Regions from separate parts of the Homo sapiens genome. Here region 2 is linked to region 1. Evidence: promoter capture Hi-C in human tissues and cell types (Jung and others, 2019). All regions are on one chromosome and are shown on one strand. The core of a region is centred on a gene start or on the middle of the fragment in contact, and the rest is flanking DNA. Distances in the headings are between cores, read along the strand shown.

Region 1 (7,568 bases), core at 2,608-5,107:
GTTGACCAGGCTAGTCTCGACTCAAGGACTCAAGTTATCCATGTGCCTTGGCCTCCCAAAGTGCTGGGATCACAGGCATGAGCCACTGTGCCCAGACTATAGTCCCATTCTTTTCCCTGCCATCATCCTCTAAAACCAGGTTCCAGCTCCCTTCCTGTATTCCCTTGGCCCTTATTCCTATATTTTTCCTGGTACTCACCATGTCATTCCATTGGCTCAGGAACTCATCTGCAATGCAGGGAAATTCTTCAGGAGATTGTTTTGTTGCCATTTCCTCATGAATGGTTCCCTCTTTGAGAAGCTTCAGACATGACTTTAAATTTCACTTGCGGCAGGAGGGGCAGGGAATGGGAGTTCCCATGCCAAGGAAGGAGGTAGAGTTTCCCCTGCTTCATCCCCCATGCTGGGGGGAAAAACCTTTAAGGAGCAATCAAGAGCTCCTTTATGGAGCCCATCTGGCTCTGAGGAGGGGCTGGGTCATGGGCCTCAGCTGCTGCAGAGCCCCTCCCTCCTGAGTACCCAGCTGCTTCTGTCTTCCCCTAGTGAGGAAACAGTTCCTGTTCCCAGGGAGTCCACCCCAGCCTCAGGGCTTCATCACAGCAACTAATAAATTAGCCTAGGATTGGAGAGAGGGCTTTTCAAGGCAACAGAACCAGCACAGACTTCAGTGAAAATGACATAGGTTTTGGAGTCAGACTAACAAAGCTGTGATTTCTGGCTGTGAGCCTTTCTGGGGGATCTTAAACCAGGCACTTTCATCTCTGAACTGCAGTGTTCTTATATGCTAAATAGGAAAAGTGATCCTGGCTTTGCAGGGTTGTAATGAAGATTTCCATTGTTTATGGAAATAGACATGTACGGCATTCACTCTCTTCTTCCTGAGTCAGTCTTGCTGATACATCTGAACTGTAATTCCCTTTCTGAATTTTGGGGTGGCGTAGGATGGGGGAGTGGTGAAAGAGTGGCAGCCTTTTCAAAAGTCTGATTTGGACCAGGTGCCATAGCTCACGCCTCTAATCCCAGTGTGGGAGTCTGAGGCAGGAGGATTTCTTGAAGCAAGGAGTTCAAGACCAGCCTCGGCAACAAAGCGAGACACTGTTTCTCCACAAACATTTTTTTTTTAAATTAGCCAGGTGTGGTAGGCTGAGGCAGGAAGATCACTTAAGCCTAGGAGTTCAAGGCTGCAGTGAGCCATGATTGCGCCACTGCATTCCAGCCTTGGCGACAGAGCAAGACCTGTCTCAAATAAAATAAATAAAATAAAACAAAAATAAAAAGTCTGATTTATCCTTTGTTGTTGTTCAAGAAGTATGCCCTCAGAAAAAGCAGACTAACCACAATTGCTGCCCAAGCACATCTTTAGAAAGGCAAATCCACCCTCCAAATGATACATTAGTGAGCAATCATTCAAAGACTAAATGTTGATGTGGGTCTTTTTGGCAGTTGGGAGTGTGTATGCATGCATGCATGAATGAATGAAAAGTCTGGCTTGGAGGGATTTACTGGGCCTTTGGGGCATTCTCAGCTTTCCTCGGATTACCCACTCTCCCTTCCCTTTGGGCTGCTTTGGAGAGAGACTGCGAGGTACTGAGACCAGCAACTTGGGAAGTGCAGGACATGCCTTGCAAAGACAGATACTTTCTGGGAGTAATTTGTCTGCCTGTTCTGCAGACACTTGGTGATACCACTTTGGGTATGTTATGCCCTGTAGTAGAGACAGTCTGCTAGCTAGACCCACATCTGCCCCGCATCTTGTTTTGCTATTGTGAAACCAAACAAAGGGGTAGCCCGGGGGGGACAGGGGAGGGCGAAAGAACACAATAAGGTCACAGGGCCCTGCTCTAAGTGTGTCCCTGTGCACATGCCATAGGGGTTGGGGACCAGAGACAAGATCCCCCTGGTGCTGAGGAAACAGCAATGGATTTAGAGCCCCGAAGACTGGCATTTAAGTTCTACCTCCTTACTGGCTATGTACGTTTGGGCAAAATAGTTTACCTTCAGAAGCCCTGTTGCTTCACATGTAATATGCAAGTGCTAACAAAGCCATCTCAGGGCTGGTGTGAGGAATAAATTTAACATTTATTTATTATTCACTTTAACAGTGAATGCAAAAGGGCTTAGTTGAAGAGTAAAATACTAAAAACCTATTGTGGTTAAGACTTTGGCTGTGAGTCAGATGATTGGTGTGTTTGACTATATTATTGTCCACCAACATTCAGTGTTTTTCCCGAGTCAGGCTGGGTCATGTGACTTGGCCAAATGTGAGCAGAAGTGCCCCATCAGTTCCAAGGGGACATTTAAAAGCTTTTATTAGCAATTCCGCAGCTCTCTTTCCTCTGCCCTAGGGATGGGGGGAGCATGTGTGAAAATGGGGCCCTGGGGAGTTGGAGACCTGAGTGATTAGAATGAGCACAGCTCCCAGGCTACTGCTGGATGGGCCCCTTATACCAGCCGGTTTAGGCCACTGGGATTTGGGGGTTGATTGTTACTGCAGCAAAACCTAGCCTGGCATCACCATACAGATAGGTGCCGTTTCTTTATGCAGTTTAATAGAAAAACAACAAAACAAAACACTCACAAAGAAAACACACAGAAAATAATAGCAAACACAACGCAGCCTTGGGGAGATGGCAGGCGAGCCTGAGCTGGGTGCTATTTGCTGCTGCTCTTGGGAAGAGGTCGGTAGACCCCGACCACCACAGCGTGGTCCCGCTCATAGGGCTCCAGGGTCAGCTGCTCTTGAGGCTTCAAGTTCTCCTGCTGCAACTTCCTCACCTCAGAAGCAAACACAGCCTCGGCGGATGCGGTGGAGTCGATGCAGTTGGCCTTGATGGAGATGAGAAAGTGGCCCCCATTGCGCAGGAAGGTGTGGGCGTTCAGGGCCACGATGCGGGACTGGTCCGGCTGGGCCACGTCGGCGAAGATCACGTCCACCATCCCGATGAGCATGCGGTACTTGAGCGGGTGCCGCGCGTCCTCCAGGACCGGAATGATGTTGGTGCGCTTCTTGGCCACGTTGACCAGATCGCGGCCGGCGCGGTGGGAGAACTCGACGGCGTAGACCAGGCCGTCTGGGCCAATGATGTCGGAGACATGGGAGACGGTGGTGCCCGACGCGGCGCCCAGGTACAGCACCTTGGACTTGGGCTTGATGTGGATCTGGTCCACCCCGCCCAGGATGGCCGCGGCCAGCTTAGAGCGGAACGGGTTCCACGTGCGGTACTCCTGCTTCACGCCGCCCTCGGTCACCGTGACGCGCCTCTCGCCGTACACAGACTGGCCCGGCACCATGTTCAGCGTGACCAGCGCGTCCTCCGCCCCGCGGTAGATGAAGACGCCCTCGTGCCGGTGCGGCTCCACCGACACCACCATGGCGCCCTTCCTGCGGCGGCTCTTGCTCTTGGCCACGCCGCCCCGCCGCTGTCCACCGCCGCCGCGATCCTTGCCGTCGCCGCCGCCGCGCCCCCGGCCCCGGCCGCCCCCGCCGAAGCCGCGCGCCCGCGCCCCGAAGCCGCCCTTGCCCCCCTGGCCGCCGCCGTCGCCCCCGCCGCCCTTGCCCGCGCCGCCGCCGCCGCCTCGGCCCCCGCCCCAGCTGCCCCAGCCGCCGCCCCCGCGGCCGCCCCCACCGCCCCCGCGCGAGCTCGCGGCCGACTTCATGGCACGCACCGGGGCGGGTGCCGTGGGTTACCGGTGCCTCGGGGCGGGTGTCAGGGGGCTCTGGTGGCTCTGGGTGGTCGTCCCGGCGGTTGTCCGCGGGTTTAGCAGCGGAGGCGGGCGGCGGGCGGCGGGCGGCGGGGGCAGGACGGGCTCTACCGCAGTGCCCGCATCCCGGAGCCGCCCCTTGACGCAGCGGCTGTGGCGCGATTGCATCACACCCGTCCCCGCGACCCTGCGGCCCGGAAGCCCCGCTTCCCAGCCCGCGTGCAGACGCAGCCTGCTCCTCTTCGCTCACCCTGCCCCTTCCCCATCTCCCGCCTTCCCAGGGATCCCTGGCACTTCCCTGGGCCACAGGGACGGGGGCGTCTCTGCTGCAGGAGAGGGGGAGGTAAGCATCAGCGTCGGTCCTGGCTGTGCCACCAGTTCTGGGACTATTGATCAGCAAGGAAGTGTTGTTGATTCTTCAGTGTGAATGGGGATACACAGAGAGCCAAAATGTCATGTTCATCCTCGAAGTCTAGTCTATGCTTCAAAGTCACTCTCTAAATCTGCAGCATTTTCTTGAGGAAAGAAAGAAAAAGAGAAAAAGAAAGAAAGAGAGAGAAAGAAAAGAGAGAGAGGGAGAGGAGAAGAAAAGAAAAGAATAATTGGGCAGCACCAAGGGCAGCAACGAGAAGAAAAGAAAAAAAGAAAAGAACAGAAAGAAAATAAAAGAATAACTCGGCACCACCAATGGCCCCAAGGCCGCAACGCAGAGGCTTTAGGGTTTAGTCAGCACCAGGGACAGCGACAGCAGTTGGGGCCCCCGTTTTGGCTACTGCTAGGGGCTTTGGGAACCACACAAGAGCTGGGGAAAGTAGGATAGGTGGTGAAACAACTGGCCAGCCTCCCGTTAGTTGAATTAAGTGTCTACTCGAGAGAGAGAGAGAGAGAGACAACGCGCACCTGAAGATCGGAGCATTTACTGAACACCTGGTATGTGCAGTATGACTTCCGTTCCATCCTGGACCACAGCTCTTCCCGTCTCATACTCATGGACGACAGTGCCAGGTCTGATTTTCCCTGAGGACTGGAGTGTCTCCTTAATGGGGACCAGAGTTTTATACACTGGAATGTGAACAAGGGATCAGTGAGTGAAATGTATGATTCCTGAGGTTGAATGGTTCACATAAAATACTCTACTTAGAGGTTTCCATTCTTGCTATAAGGTGAATATTTTCCAAAATGATGAACTACACTTGGTGTCTGTGAGGGTTAATTTTATGTGTCAACTTTACTGGGCCATGGGATGCCCAGATATTTGGTCAAATAGTATTCTGAGTGTTTCTGTGAGGGTGTTTTTTGATGAGATTAACATTTAAATTGGTATATTGAGTAAAGCTGATTGCCGTCTACGATGTGGCTGGGCCTCATCTAATCAGTTGAAGGCAGAAATAAAGCAAAATGCTGACCTTCCCCACGGAAGAGAGAATTCTCCTGCCCAAGGGCCTTTCAACTGGCACATCAGCTCTTTCTGCCTGACAACCTTTGGACTGGGACATTGGCCCTGCGGATTTTGGACCTGCTGGTCTCCACAATCACATGAGCCAATATATATCCTATATATACACACATATATATATCCTACAGGCCTGTGTCTTTGGAGAACCTTGAATAATAGAGATCCTGAGACAAAGCCTTGAGTCCAATTGGTTTGTGAGGTGATCCCAGGAAGCACATGTTGGGGAGGCAAAAATGAGATAGAGAAGATAGAAAGGTTAAGAAAGAACTGGGCACAGTGCCTCACACCTGTAATCCCAGCACTTTGGGAGGCCAAGGTGGGAGGATTGATTGAGCCCACGAGTTCAAGACCAGTCCTAGCATGATAGCAAGACCCTGTCTCTACAAAAATAAACAAGACTTAGCCAGGTGTCATGGTGTGTACCTGTAGTCACTGTAGTACCTGTAGTCACTGTAGTACCTGTAGTACCTCAGCTACTGAGGAGGCTGAGCTGGAGGGGTCGCTTGAGCCTGGGAGATCAAGGCTGCAGTGAGCTGAACTCACACCACTACACTCCAGCTTAGGTGACAGAGGGAGACCCTGTCTCAAAAAAAAAAAAAAAAAAAAAAAGAGGGTAGATTAATGAGTAGATGACCACAGTGGACAATGGGAGCTCAATTGCTGTGAGTATTCTGAGAAACTGTGTGGAAGGCATCTCAGAATTGTTCTACTGCAGGTTGGAGGCTGGGGCATTAATCCACTGTCTTAATTTGTTTCTATACCTGAGACTGGGTAATTTATAAAGAAAAGGGCTTTATTTTTTCTTTTTTTATTCTAAGATAGGGTATCACTCTGTCACCCAAGCTGAGTGCAGTGGCACAATCATGGCTATTGCAGCCTTGATCTCCCAGGCTCAAGCAATCCTCCCACCTCAGCCTCCTGAGTAGTTGGGACTACAGGTGTGTGCCACCACACCAGGCTAAAATTTTATTCTTTATAGAGATGGAGCCTCACTATGTTGCCCAGGCTTGTCTCAAACTCCTGGACTCAAGCAGTTCTCCTGTTTCAGTCTCCTAAAGTGCTGGGATTACAGGTGTGAGCCACAGTGGCCAGCCAGGTTTCTTTCTATATAGGTATAAACCATCATGCCTGGCAATTTTTTTTTTTTTTTTTTTTACTTTTTGTAGAGATGAGACCTCATTATGTTGCCCAAGCTGGTCTCCAACTCCTGGCCTCAAGCCATCCTCCTGCCTCAGCCTCCTGAGTTGCTGGAATTCTAGGCACAAGCCTCCACACTTGGCACCATGTATACTTTTGTTTACAATTGACTTGTTATTCCAGAAGATGTGCCCTAAAGTAATGATCATAATTACATCTGTGACTAGGCCTCAGTAGTAGACATAGTGCACATCAATCATTCCCATAGACTTAAAAAATGCATGAGGAATTTTGCTTATTTTCTCACAGAACCATTCCAACAAATTGCCCAAGGAGTAACTAGCCATGATTGACATGAAACCAGAGGTAATACTCTATAACCCCATCTCCATTCTCATTATACTTTAAGCATCCATGCATGAAGAAACTTGTTTTCTCTAAGCCATGGTCCACCTCCAAAGGTGACTGACTGTAGGGATCTGATCTCCACCCCAGTGACAGGTGCAGCTATATTTGCTCAAGAGGAGTTGGGCTATGATGCAGTAACATAGAACTCCAAAATCTCAATGTATTAATACAGCTATGTTTAGATTTCTTATGTTTTATGTCCACTGAGAGTCAGCGGGAGGTTTGCACCACACAGCCACTGAAGAACTCAGGCCCCAACATCTTGTGGCTGCAACATGAGAAAAAAGAGGGCCTCCACTGTACTGCTGAAGAATAGAGTGCAGAGAACTCACAACCTTTTTGTATGTTTAGTCTGGACTTTGACACAATCATTTCTACTCACCACGGATTGCAGCCTTGATCTCCCAGGCTCAAGCAATTCTCCCACTTCAGCCTCCTGGCTGATGACTGGCCAAAGCCAGTCACATGCCCTGCCTAGCTGAAAGGCAGCTGAGATATGTGGGTGCCATAACTGGGGAACAGTAAATGTTTTTACCTAGGTGTCTACTGCATAATGCCAGCTGGCACACCTGGATCAGTGCACCAAACACAAACACCTCAGGTGAAATTTACTGTTTGGCGTGCATATATTTAAATTTACTCGTCAAGACAAAATATAATACCTCCTTCCTAACACGACTAAAACTCACAATCTTAGTCAACTCCCAATAATATATCTAATATAGCTGGTTAATTAATTAGAAAAAGAGAATCTTCTCCCTTTTTGTAGCCTCTGGGACTTGGAAAGTAGCTAAAATCCCTTATTTGGGATGTCATTATTGTTTGGCCATTACTTCTGCTGGGGGACACTTCGTCTCTTGGTGGC
Region 2 (7,568 bases), core at 2,197-4,696, 58 kb before region 1:
AAAAAGTATATCCTACTTTTCAAAGCCAGCAAGAAAACCTTTTTTGGAATTATCCTCAGTTTGGGAATTTTCACAAGGCTCTAAGTTCCAGAAAGCTATTCTTGCTGGCTAGTTGGCTAAGCTTTCAGTAAAAGCCCTGATTTCCACAGCAGAACTGTGCAAACTATTCTTATATGCACTGGCCTCACAGCTAAGGCAGTGGCAGCCTCAAAAATCCTGAGATGCGGAATTCTATGATCCTGTCCTTATGTGCTCTTAGTCCTTCCTTATACTGCTGAGGAGCTCCCTAATCAGTCTTCCTCCATTCTCCATCACCATGGGCTTTCTACTAGCTTTTTCACTTCTAGCCTTACTGAATAGCCCCACCACACACACACACACACACACACACACACACACACGCACACACACACCATGCTAAGATCTTTAGTGGTAGCAGCCGTTAGGAAAGGTTTGCTTATTCATTCTTTTGTTTATTCAAATATTCGGTCGGAACTGTCTCTGTACCAGGAACTGTGTTAAAAGTTAGGAACACAATGGTAAACAATAAAAAAGACAGCCGCGCCCTCTGGGAGCTTTCTGAGCTGAGTGAGGATGTCAGACTAAATGACATCGTGATGAATGATATAAATAAAAGTATTAAAGTTCTATGAGGGCCGGGCACAGTGGCTCACACCTGTAATCCCAGCACTTTGGTAGGCTGAGGCGGGCAAATCAATTGAGGCCAGGAGTTTGAGACCAGCCTGGCCAAGATGGTGAAACCCTGTCTCTATTAAAAATTACAAAATTAGCTGGGTGTGGTGGTGCATGCCTGTAATCCCAGATATTCAGGAGGCTGAGGCACAAGAATCACCTGAACCCGGGGAACGGAAGTTGCAGTGAGCCGAGATAGCACCACAGCTTGGGCGACAGAGCAAGACTGTCTCAAAAATAAATAAATAAATAAATAAATAAATAAATAAATAAATAAATAACTTATCTGAGAAAGTAAAGCAGGCACCTATCTTAGAAAGTAAACTAATCTGTTTGCAGGCAGAAGTGATACTTACATTGAGACTTAAATGTCATCATGAATTTTTGTCTAATAGTCAACATCAAGCCAACTCTTTTGTTCCCAATGCCAAGTACTGAGTTGAACACTTTAGATGCATGAAGTGATTTCATCTTCACAAAGACTCAATGGCAAGGGAGCCATTTTTATCCCCATTTTATAGATGAGAAAACTGAGAAGCAAAATTACCACTCTAAAGTTGCACAACCAATCAGGGATTGGGACCTAATTCTGCCTGATTACAATGCCTAGTTTTTAACCACTCTACTCTAACCTGATGAAAGCCTTGATAAATACACTATTAGGCATCGCAAGTCCAGGAAGAGGGCCACCTGTAATTAGAGCTGCCCCTGATTAAACATCGTGTGAGGAAGTACATGATGGCTCCTAGGCCACACTGTCTAGTCCCACCCTTCTAAAATACCGTGATTCATTCCTACAAGAGGTGCTAGACTGCTTTTGTTGTCATTAATTATGTTTCTAGAAGTTTCTACAAGAATAAGACTTTCCAGGTTGCATCTGAAGGACCTGGGCCAACACCCATCCAATTTAATTATTTGTAAGTCCCCATATGGGGGCAGATCCCCTGCTAGGCTTGGGGACACTGAACAGAATAAGTCACAATGCTAGCCTTCAAACAGCTCATCTGGCAGTGAAAGAGACAGGCAAGTAAACGGATCACTGTATTATTTTGCAGTGAGTGAGAAAACTAGAAGCACATGCAGGGACCAGAAGTAGCATAGAAGAGAGGAAGCTTTTCTGGAGGAGGGGATTTCTAGGTTGGGTTTTAAAGTAGAAAAACGTGTTCAATGAAACTCAAAAAGAGAGTCTTCCACTTGTGAAAGGAGTGAGGACATCAGGCAGCAGCAAGCATTTAGTTTGCTAGAAGCTGCTTTTGTCTGATTGGAACATATAATGAAGGGTGAGTAGAGGCATGAGATGCAGCTAAAGAGATACACAGAGGCCAATCATGACTGGTCTTATACCCTAGGCTCAGGAGCTGGGATTTTTATCTTGAAGACAACATGTCAGGAAGAGACAAGGTCCTAAGCCCTGAAAATGATACATTCTGGTTTGCTATTGAGAAAACTCTCTCTGGCATGGGTAAAGAGGGTGGGTCAGATAAAGGCAGGCAAGAGGCAAGAAGGGTCTTTTTTTTTATTTTTTAGAGACAGAGTCTTGCTATGTTGCCCCATCTGGTCTCGAACTCCTGGCCTCAACTGATCTTCCTGCCTCAGCTACCTCAGCCTCTTGAGTCATTGGGATTACAGGCATGAGCCATCACACCTGCCAGGAAGGGTCTTGTTTGTTTGTTTGTTTGTTTGAGATGGAGTCTGGATCTGTCGCCCAGGCTTGAGTGCAGTGGCGCAATCTCAGCTCACTGCGGCCTCTGCCTCCTGGGTTCAAGCGATTCTCCTGCCTCAGCCACCTGAGTAGCTGGAATTACAGGTGCGTGCCACCATGCCTGGCTAATTTTTGTATTTTTAGTAGAGACAGGGTTTCACCATGTAGGCCAGGCTGGTCTCGAACTCCTGACCTCAAATGATCCACCAGCCTCGGCCTCCCAAAGTGCTGGATTATAGGTATGAGCCACCATGCCCACCAGAAAGGGTCTTTAAGAGTATAAATGAGAGACGCAGAGGCTGGTGCTCAGTTGAGAGCAGTGAGGTTGGACGGAAAGGAAGAGACAGGAAGGTAACAGCAGGAAGACTCGGTGACTGGTTGGATGTGCACTGTGACGGGGCAGGAGGAGTCCAGAATGACTCCTAACTTTCTGTGCTGGGCAAGTGGGTGGTGGATGGAACCACCAGCTGAAACAGGGCCTTTAGGGAAATGAAGAGGGAGTGGGAGAATGATGAAACTGGACTATTGAGGTGGAGGTGCCAGGAGGCAGGGATCGGCAGGCAGAGGAGAACTCCAGGGAGAGGCTCTTCCCTGCTCCCTAGGAAATGCCTGGTAGGATGCATTCCTGGGCAGAGCAGAAGTCTGTGACACCCACACTGGGGGCCTCTGAGATGAAAATCACCAACTGCTGAAACCAGCTGACTCCTATGGCAAGACATGCCTAGCATCCCCAACCTGAGCTGAGGAGTGGCTGGGAGAATCAACCACTTATTTACTCTCCAGGCTTCCCTTCTTAGTAAATGACACAACTACCTGTCTCCTCTGAAGTGCAAGCCCAAACCCTAAAACCTACTACACTTCCTGCCTCCTTTTCCCCATACCCATGCATCTAATCTAATTAATCTTCAACAATCACTCCATCTCAAACAGTCCCGATCATTCTTGGTCCCCTTATCTTGCCGTATCATCTTCATAGCATTTATATGATCTAAAATGATATTATACTGCTGCCTACTGGTTTACTACCTTTGTTGTCTCTGGAGCGTAGGCTCCAGGAGGGCAGGGGCCTTATCCCATTCATCTCCATATCCCTAATCCCTAGAACAGTGCCTGGTGCATTGTCAGAGCTCAATAAACGTGAATTAAATGAAGTTCATTTTTTTGTAAACTTCTTCAAACCTTTTTCAGCTTTACTAATATTCACCCTTCACTAATACCTGACATAAATTCTTAATTTTTTCTTTTTCTCTCTCTCTCTCTTTTTTTTTTTTTTTTTTTTTTTTTTTTTTTTTTAGAAATGGCATCTCACTATGTTGTCCAGGCTGGACTCAAACCCCTGGGCTCAAATGATCCTCCTGCCTTGACCTTCTGAGTAGCTGGGACTACAGGCACATGCCACCACACCCAACTATTAAATGAAATTCTTGATCCAACACTTCTCCCCGTCTCTGCTGCTCCCATAATGATTCAAGTCCCTGTACAATGCCTGGAGTGCTCCGGGAACCCCTCAGACTTGGTGACTGACTCTGTGTGGGTTGAGAAGGATGGGAGTCTCTTAGTCTTTTCATTTCCAAGTCATAACTCCTCTCCCATCCAGTCATTCTCCACAAAGCAGCCAAAATAATCCTCTAAATTCATGGACAAATCACTCCCTGCTTAAAATTTTCAGGTGGCCCTCAAGGGCCAGCAAGCTCAACTCTTTGATTAATCTCCTATCACTTTACACCTCACTCTCTACTCCTCACACATTGCTGCTTCTGTTCCTCAAAAAAAAATCTACCTTCAGGACCAGTCACACCTCTGTCGGGCACACTCTTTCCCAGCAATCTGCATGGGTCCCAGCTTAAATGCCACTTTCTGAGATTATCCTCCTTGGCCCATCCAATCTAGAATAAAGCCTGAACCCCCAACCAATCTTCCACAGCCCCAGCCACTCTTTAGCACATCAACCTGACTATTTCCTTCACATCACTTATTATAGCCTATTCTTGTTTATTGATTTGTTAACTTAATTATTGTTTCTCTCTTTTTCACCTCTCTCCACCCCCAGCAAGTACTCCAGTGCCTGGAAGATAGTTCAAGCTTAATTAGTATTTTTGAATTAAATTGTGCTTCCACTATCATGATAGTGATGATGACGATGCTGCTGCTGCTGCTGATAATGATGATGACAAGGATGATGACTGAGGATGCTAATATTCATGATGTTCTCCCCTAGCTTATTTGAGTTTGTGGATCCAATGACTGACTGAAGTATGTTCTTGACCATTTAATTAGAGACAGAATCCGCTGTTAAAAGCTTCATCTGGGCTTTGAAGGGTGTGTAGGGTGTGAGTGTATGTGTGTGTGTGTGCATGTGTGCATGTGTGCGTGTGTGCGCATGTGTGTGTGTGTGTTTATTCATACCAGGAGACCTATAGTCATCATTAGGTACAACTCACCACCTGTCTCTGTGGATACCCGCTCAGTAAAGGCAAAATGAAGATGTGTCAGGTCTCCTCTATCATTTTGCATGATGGGCTGGATTTATTGTGTTTCATAGACAATAAATATTGAGACAAGAAGACAGTCTCTTGGCCCCTTTAGATGCTTTTCCCAGCTCCTGCATTCACTCTGCCAGGAATGGGTTTTGAGGACATGCTAGAAAAGAGAGAAAATGCAATTAACCAGATGGTGCTAGGAGGAGGGACTGGGGCTGAAAGCCAACGCAGGCTGCAGAAGGAAGAGTGGCCACAAACTAAAACAGGATGACCTGTCAGTTTCAATCACACTGGTGAAAACTTTAGGAAACACATGGCTGAACACATTTCACATTGGTCCTGAAAAGGGAACAGGTTCTTAGTGAACTGAACACACTTCACATTGGTCCTGAAAAGGGAACAGGTTCTTAGTGAAATTCAAAAAGTAGAGATGAAAGAAATCTCTGGGCTGGGCACCATGGCTCATGCCAGGGTGAGCAAAACTCTGTCTCAAAAAAATAAAAATAAAAAAACCAGGCACAGTGGCTCATGCCTGTAATCCCAGCACTTTGGGAAGCCAAGGCAGGCAGATCACCTGAGGTTAGGAGTTTGAGACCAGCCTGGCCAGCAAGGTGAAACCCCGTCGCTACTAAAAATACAAAAATTAGGGAGGCGTGGTGGCAGGCAACTGCAGTCCCAGCTACGCAGGAGGCTGCAGCAGGAGAATCGCTTGAACCTGGGAGGCAGATATTAGGCCGGGCACAGTGGCTTACGCCAGTAATCCCAGTAATCCCAGCACTTTGGGAGGCTGAGGCGGGCGGATCACAAGGTCAGGAGATCGAGACCAGCCTGGCTAACACGGTGAAACCCCACCTCTACTAAGAATACAAAAAATTAGCCAGGCATGGTGGTGGGTGCCTGTAGTCCCAGCTACTGGGGAGGCTGAGGTAGGAGAATGGCGTGAACCCGAGAGGCGGAGCTTGCAGTGAGCACAGATCATGCCACTGCACTCCAGCCTGGGCGACACAGCGAGACTCCGTCTCAAAAAGAGAAAAAAAAAATCTCCAACAGTCATCTCATTTTGCAGATGGGTAATTTGAAGCCCAGAGAGAAAAAGGACTTTCCCAGGGTCACACAGCAATTGTATGGCTGATCTGAGACAGGAATTCTCACTATTCAAAGTTCAGTGATTTTCTGGCATAACAGACCAAAGAGTAGTCTCATCTTTGAACAAACAGCAAATAGATGGTTAACTCTAGTAATATCACAGGTGTATAGCCTAACTTTTAAGCTAAGTCATCCATGTGTACACTCATCTCTATGGCCACAGAAACTAGCAAGAGCCTGTGCCCAAAACTTACCCAAATTTCTGTGGCTTCTAATTTCTAGCTCTTCTTCCTTTCAGACCATGGCCAGACTATCACAAGACATACGTATCAATTCCCCTTTGACTTCCAAGCTGATACTGTCAAAGAGAACCAGAAACAACCAAAAGATATATGTTGTCAGAGAACTTGGTGTGCCCATAAGATTTATAAAAGCAGCAGGTAAATCATATTAGATAGTGAGTATTCTTTGAAGCCATGTCAGATCAGAAATCACGACTCTCATCCAATAAAACTGTGGAAAACAGGACCATTCTAGAATATCTAAGGTTCTGTGTGGGATAGAGTAATAACAGGAAATAAAAGAGGAAGTGCAGGTTAAGTCTACCATTCAGGATTCTAACTTGCCAAGTCATATTCCTGGTAGCTCAGAAAGATGTTTCTATAAAAAACAAAACAAAACAAAACAAATAAAGGCCAGGCAAGGTGGCTCATGCCTGTAACCCCAACACTTTGGGAGGTGAAGGTGGGAGGATGGCTTGAAGCCAAGAGTTTGAGACCAGCCTGGGCAACAAAGTGAGAACCCATCTCTACAAAAAATTAAAAAATAAAAAAATTAGCCGGGTGTTTTGGTCCATGCCTATGGTCCCAGCTACTCGGGAGGCTGAGGCAGGAGGATCCCTTGAGCCCAGGAGTTGGAGACTGCAGTGAGCAATGATCATGCCACTACACTTCAGTTTGGGTGACAGAGTGAGATCTCGCCACTACACTTCAGCTCAGGTGACAGAGTGAGACCTCGTCCCTAAAAAAAAATTTTCTAAACAACAAACATAAAATCTGGAATCAAAATAGTAAATCAAACATAAAATCTAGAATCAAAATCTGGTCTGATTGGTGCCATGTGGTTCCTTATCTTTTACCTAATTAGACCTATGGTCTGATCCCAAATAATGACCTTAGGCAAAATGTCTAAATACAAAAGCTTTCTTCCTTTACTTTACAATAAGAATAACAATCCAAGGCCACGGCAGGTGGATCACTTGAGGTCAGGAGTTCGAGACCAGCCTGGTCAACATGGCAAAACCCCATCTCTGCTAAAAATACAAAAATTAGCCAGGCGTGGTGGCACACGCTGGTAATCCCAGCTACTTGGGAGGCTGAGGCAGGAGAATCACTTGAACCCAGGAGGCAGAGGTTGCAGTGAGCCAGGATCACACCACTGTACTCCAGCCTGGGGTACAGAGTGAGACTCCATCTCAAAAAAAAAAAAAAAGAATAACAATCCAAATAATAAACATAATCATTACTTACTGATCACTACATATATGCCAGATAATATGTTACATACATCATAGTCCATGTTCTGTTGCTTTTTTTTTTTTTTTTTTT

What was found. Contacts are between HindIII fragments. The study calls those that stand out against the background at their distance.
Region 2: a fragment that was not itself captured here is called in contact with the fragment with the promoter of FBLL1 in region 1 in 1 of the 25 tissues and cell types used here (spleen).

Annotation. Positions count from the first base shown.
Region 1 is chr5:168,525,594-168,533,161 of GRCh38, reverse strand. FBLL1 (fibrillarin like 1) reads right to left here and starts at 3,857. Exons shown (of 1, transcript NM_001355274.2): 1 at 2,528-3,857. The coding sequence starts at 3,657. The coding sequence ends at 2,653. RefSeq lists enhancers at 1,984-2,153, 3,009-3,550 and a silencer at 4,404-4,698. The HindIII fragment of the contact is 8,115 bases long and covers 1,304-7,568 here.
Region 2 is chr5:168,582,886-168,590,453 of GRCh38, reverse strand. No RefSeq gene overlaps it. Among named protein-coding and RNA genes, the nearest start is that of PANK3, 7.3 kb to the right of the region's middle. RefSeq lists a silencer at 6,563-6,612. The HindIII fragment of the contact is 4,965 bases long and covers 964-5,928 here.